Linked DNA regions of Homo sapiens: region 1 is linked to region 2. The links are contacts of gene promoters, found by promoter capture Hi-C in blood cells and fetal thymus (Javierre and others, 2016). All regions are on one chromosome and are shown on one strand. The core of a region is centred on a gene start or on the middle of the fragment in contact, and the rest is flanking DNA. Distances in the headings are between cores, read along the strand shown.

Region 1 (2,821 bases), core at 4-2,503, 190 kb before region 2:
CGCTCCAGCTTGGGTGACCAAACGAGACTCCGTTTAAAAAAAAAAAGAAAAGAAAAAAGATGTTCTCTAACATAACCACAGTAGTTATCAACTCGGGGAATTTAACATTGATACATCATCACCACAATCAAGATATAGAACAATTCCATTATACCCAAAAATTCCCTCATGCTTCCGCTTTATAGTTAACTCCTCCCCCAATACCCTGGCCACCACTATTTCCAATCCCTAAAATTTTGTCCCTTCCAGAATGTCACATAAGTGAAATCACACATACACATATAGTATGTAGCCTTTTTAAAAAATTGTAAGCTGGCTGGGCACAGTGGCTCACTCCTGTAATGCTAGCTCTTTGGGAGGCCCAGGCAGGTAGATAACCTGAGGTCGGGAGTTCAAGACCAGCCTGGCCAACATGGCGAAACCCCGTCTCTACTAAAAATACAAAAAATTAGCCAGGTGTGGTGGCACACACCTGTAATCCCAGTTACTTGGGAGGCTGAGGAAGGAGAATCGTTTGAACCCGGGAGATGGAGGTTGCAGTGAGCCGAGGTCATGCCACTGCACTCCTGCCTACACAACGGGAGCAAGATTTCATCTCAAAAAAAAAAAAAAAAAACAAAGTAAGCAAATACACATCAAATAAAATGCATCATTTTAAAGTGTACAATTCAGGAGCATTAAGTACATTCACAATGTCATGCAACCATCACTACTACCTAGTTCCAGAACACTTCTATCAGCCCAAAAGAAGTACCATAACCATTAGGGAGTCGTTCCCCATTCCCGCTTAGCCCCTGGCAACCACCAATCTGCTTTCTATCTCTACGGGTGTGCCTTCTCTAGATATTTCATATAAACTGAATTGCACAATATTTGGTCTTTTGTGTCTGGCTTCTTTTATAATGTTTTCAAGGTTCATCCAACTTGTAGCATACATCAGTATTTCATTCCTCCTTATGGTAGTGTATATATCCTTATGAGTCTAGTTTCTTTCACTCAGCATATTGCCATTGAGATTCATCCATGTTGTTAGGTGCATGAGTAGTTTCTTCTTCATTGCTGAGAAGTATTCCATTTTATATATATACTAGAGTTTGTCTAGTCACCAAAAGACATTTTACTCCTGGTACTTTTTCCAGAAATAATCATATAATTCAAGATAATTTACAATTCATGGGGTTATAATGTATTTGTAAATGGCAAATGAAAAATTCAAATATACACAACATATATAGGTCCAAAATCTCTTATCTACAATTCCAAAATCCCATAAATGTCAAGTTTTTTGGTAAAATTCAACAAACTCATTTTGAGGCAAATCCTGGCCTATACTGTGAGACTTTATTTACTCCTGTTAGTGAGAATATTAATAATTTTGCAGCGTAAGTATTATGTCTGAGTACACATTCCCCTGGGAGATATAATTCCCATATGATCTATGTAAACTACATTTCTATAACTTGAAAAATTCATAAGCTCATTTAACCTCACAGGTTCTAGATAAAATTGTGACCCTGTACTTATACAGCTCTAGAGGAGACAAAAATTACACTAATACATTACTAGAGTCAACGAAGAGGCGTTAATCTTCTCTCCTGTGTTATAGATCAGCCCTCCATTACATCAACTAACAGGACAGACTGTACTCCACAATTCCCCTCTTATGAGCAATATCCATCCTGCATGGTCTCTGCAGGTCATCACTCAGCCTAAAATATTTATTACCAGTTTTCACCTATGAATGTCACCTTTTTGTCTGTGCATACTGGTTCACATCTGTAATCCCAGCACTGTGGGAGGATGAGGCAGGAGAATCACTTGAACCCAGGAGTTCAAGACCAGCCTGGGAAACATAGTGAGACCGCGCCTCTACAAAAAGTTTAAAAATTAGCCTGCCATGGTGGTACGCACCTGTAGTCCCAAATACTCTGGAGGTTGAGACAGAAGGATCACTTGAGCCGAGGGGTTTGAGGTTACAGTAAGCTATGATCGTACCAATGCACTCCAACCTGGGCAACAGAGTAAGACCCTTTCTCTTATAAAAAAAAATTTTTAAGTCACTGTTACTACTAAGATTCACATTTTTTTTTCTTTTTCTTTTTAAGAGACAAGGTCTTGCTATGTTGCTCAGGCTGATCTCAAATTCTCAGGCTCAAAAAATTCTCCCATCTCAGACTCCCAAGTAGCTAGGACTACAGGTGTGCAACACCATGCCTGACTACCACATATGATCTTTTAACAGTAAACACTATAGTTCTTAGAACATCTGATTGTTCCAAGACATATTCTTCAACAGATATGTAAGACCTAAGCTGCACTGCTGTGAAACCTACACTACCCTTTTATGTTCCTCACCTGAGGGGAAATCACAGCTGCTCTTCACATACACCATAAATAATAATCTATTCCATGCATATAGGGAACCTACCGAGTGTCAAGCACTGGTGGAAACAAGAAGGAATAAGGCTCCTGCTGACATTCCTCTCTAGTGAGAGAAATAAGATACACAAAACCACGGAGAAAAATATCAGTGATAGATCCAATACCACTGACAGATTCAATCCAATCAGTGACCAGTGATAGATCAGTGATAGATCCAACTGAAAAATACCAGTGATAGAAATATCCAATCAGTGATAGATCCAAACAAGGATATGATGGAAAACAACTGCCCGATGATTTTAGATTTGAGAGTGACACAAGGCCTCAGAGACGTGAAACTGAAGCCAAGAACTAAACCCCAGAAGACAAGTAAAGATCAGAGAGAAGAGTAGTGCAAAGACCCTGACACAGAAAGAAGTTTGTATTGGTCAAAGACAAG
Region 2 (2,771 bases), core at 268-2,767:
AGAACCTCCCTTTTTTTTTTTTGAGACAGAATTTTGCTCTGTCACCCAGGCTAGAGTGTGGTGGCGTGATCTCAGCTCACTGAACCTCTGCCTCCCAGGTTCAAGTGATCCTCCTGCCTCAACCTCCTGAGTAGCTGGGATTACAGGCACCTGCCATCACGTCCAGCTAATTTTTGTATTTTTAGTAGGGACAGGGTTTCACCATTTTGGCCAGGCTGGTCTCGAACCTCTGACCTCAAGTGATCCACCTTCTTTGGCCTCCCAAAGTGCTGGATTACAGGCATGAGCCACTGCGCCTAGCTAGGAGGACCTCCCCTTCTGAACCAGTTATGGTATCCCAGGGCCAGGAAGAAGCTGAAAGCCTTCTGTGGGAACAAAACAAAGCAAAACAAAAACGCTTCATGGGGCTTCCACCAAAGTTAGTGTTTTAAGGCACGCCTCAGGAACAGCAACTTGGAAGCAGGTTGTTCCAGGAAGTGGTTGTAGGCAGATTTTTCCTGAGTTCTTCCCCTGCTCTGAGGGCTCATTAAATCTTCCTCTGAGAAGCTCCACTTTTATCTTCATTTTACAGATGGGACAACCAAAGCTAAAGAGAGGCTAAGGCTCAAAAGTCAGAGTTAGCTAGTTGGGGCATTTGGGTGTGGGCCCAGGCCACGTAACTTCATCTGTTGTTCTAAGCCTGAAGCCAAGCCCAGAGTTAGGTGTTCTGTATGGGGAGCAAGGTGTGACCATCTTCCTGGGACCATTAGTCTGCTTGGGAGGCCGGTCATGACAGTCCAGGGCAAAAGATGCTGTCACAGGATCTCAAGACAAGATGCTCTAGGGAAGAGAAAAGGGAGTGCCCGCTGTGTGTCAGGACTTGTGCTAGGCTCTAAACCTCAGGCAGGAAAGCATGGGCAATGAGCCAGAGGCTGCTGTGGCAGCACAGACTGCGGTACCTCGAGGCTAGTAAGGGACAAAGCGTGGGAAGCTGGGATAGAGGCTCCTCACACTCTGAAACCAGCAGGAGGAGGTGCGAGACCCAGCACCTCCATTTCTAGAGGTGGCGTGACCTTGGCTCGGCCTCCCCTCTCTGAGCCTCAGTTTCCTCTCCAGAGTGAACTGGGGGCTGCACCCCCCTTCTCCCAGAGTGGGGGACAAAAAAACGAATAGCACACCGCTGAGATTCCCTGTGTGTGCGCAAGTGTATGACAAGACGCCGCCGGTACCGCACGAGGGCCAGGGACGCAGAGAGGCCAAGGGCGCTCCGGCCTCGTAGTAGCCAGCGAAAACTCCGCCGCCAGCCACTCCGGGAACGAAGCGCATGCGCCAACCCATGCCGTCACAGTCACGTGCCCCACGCTTTCGGCAGAGGCCCTGAGAGGCAGACTCTGACTGACACGTGAGCTGACCTGTCAGCAGGAAGCACTTCCCCTGGCGACGAGCAAAAAGACTGTTGATTGGGGATAGCACCCCCTCGGGGGCGGGTTCTTTGCAGTCCTGGTTACTATGACGCCCGGCCCCCGCCCCCTCGGCTAGCCGCCATCTTGTTGTTGATCCGTACCCAGTGGGCAGCGCCGGGAGCTGGACCAAGCGGCCGGTGAGAGGCCGCTGTAGCGGTGCTCAGCCACCTGTGCTGCCTGCCAGGGGGCGGGCCGAAACCTGGAGGCCCGGGGGGCCCAGCTCCCGTAGGGAGCCGTGGGCGCTCGGTGCCCGGGCCGGGCAGGTGAGTGACAGGAGCCGGGCCGATAGACCGGCCTGACGCCCGCGGGGAGGGCGGTGGCGGGCGCGGGGTTGGAGTGGGCGCGTGTGGGGTCGGGGCTCCGGTGGGGCCATCACTGGAACATCGCTCGAGCGTCCTGACCGGCCGCCCGCCGAGCCTCCCAGATGCTGGCACCGAAGCCGGGGGGACAGCCGGTGTGGAGGACGGAGAGCGCCAGTGCCTGAGGGTTGGCCGGCTAGTAGCGGGAAACCAGCTTCTCTGACCGAAGCTCTGGACTCCGCTGATCCGGAGCGCTAAAGTGTGTCCGGTGCCACCCTGATGCTCTCCTGGGAGTTATGTTGCTCCTGGCTGAGAAATAGACTTACCTCTTTCTTAGATAGCGTTCCTGCGAGTGATTTTCAGGACGCTGGATGCTAAGACTAGACGAAGCAAGCCAAAGCCCCCGCGAGCCAGGCAGGCCGGTGTCACGGCCCTATGATTATGGCAAGGGGGACCCTCTGCCTGGCTGCTGCTTCCTGAGACCCGTTCGGAACCTCACGTGTACCTCGAAGCTCACCGTTTTCCTCGCAAAGAACCTGGTTAAATGTCCATAATGGCTGAGTTTTATTTTGGAACATAATTTCTTTGGTTCTTCACCACCACTTTTTGGAGAGTGGTAATGTCTTCCTCTTTTTGCTTTAGGAGAAAGTGAGTATTATGGTGATGACTTGATTTTATCTCCTAAAGGGATGCTCGCCATAGGAGACAAAGGAAACGTAGGAGTGTCTTAGAATCGGAAAAAGAAACTTGTTTTTGTTGTGGATGATATGGAACTGGCAAATTAACTGTTTTTTTTCTTTTTTTTCTTTTGAGACAGAGTCTCTCGCTCTGTTGCCCAGGCCGGAGTGCAGTGGCGCGATCTCGGCTCACCACAGCCTCCACCTCCCGGGTTCAAGCGATTATCCTGCCTCAGCCTCCCGAGTAGGTAGGACTACAGACACGCGCCACCATGCCCGGCTAATTTTTGTATTTTTAATAGAGACGGGGTTTCACCATGTTGGCCAGGCTGGTCTCGAACTCCTGACCTCGT

What was found. The method cuts DNA at HindIII sites, captures the fragments that hold promoters and counts their contacts. A CHiCAGO score of 5 or more calls a contact.
Region 1: a contact is called between a fragment that was not itself captured here and the fragment with the promoter of IP6K1 in region 2, in 1 of 17 cell types (M2 macrophages). The highest score is 5.2, in M2 macrophages.

What each region holds. Positions count from the first base shown.
Region 1 is chr3:49,977,234-49,980,054 of GRCh38, reverse strand. The region is part of intron 5 of RBM6 (RNA binding motif protein 6); the gene reads right to left. Among named protein-coding and RNA genes, the nearest start is that of RBM6, 38 kb to the right of the region's middle. The HindIII fragment of the contact is 6,129 bases long and covers 1-2,821 here.
Region 2 is chr3:49,785,288-49,788,058 of GRCh38, reverse strand. IP6K1 (inositol hexakisphosphate kinase 1) reads left to right here and starts at 1,517. Exons shown (of 6, transcript NM_153273.4): 1 at 1,517-1,705. RefSeq lists silencers at 654-818, 1,554-1,903 and enhancers at 994-1,063, 1,150-1,839. The HindIII fragment of the contact is 18,469 bases long and covers 1-2,771 here.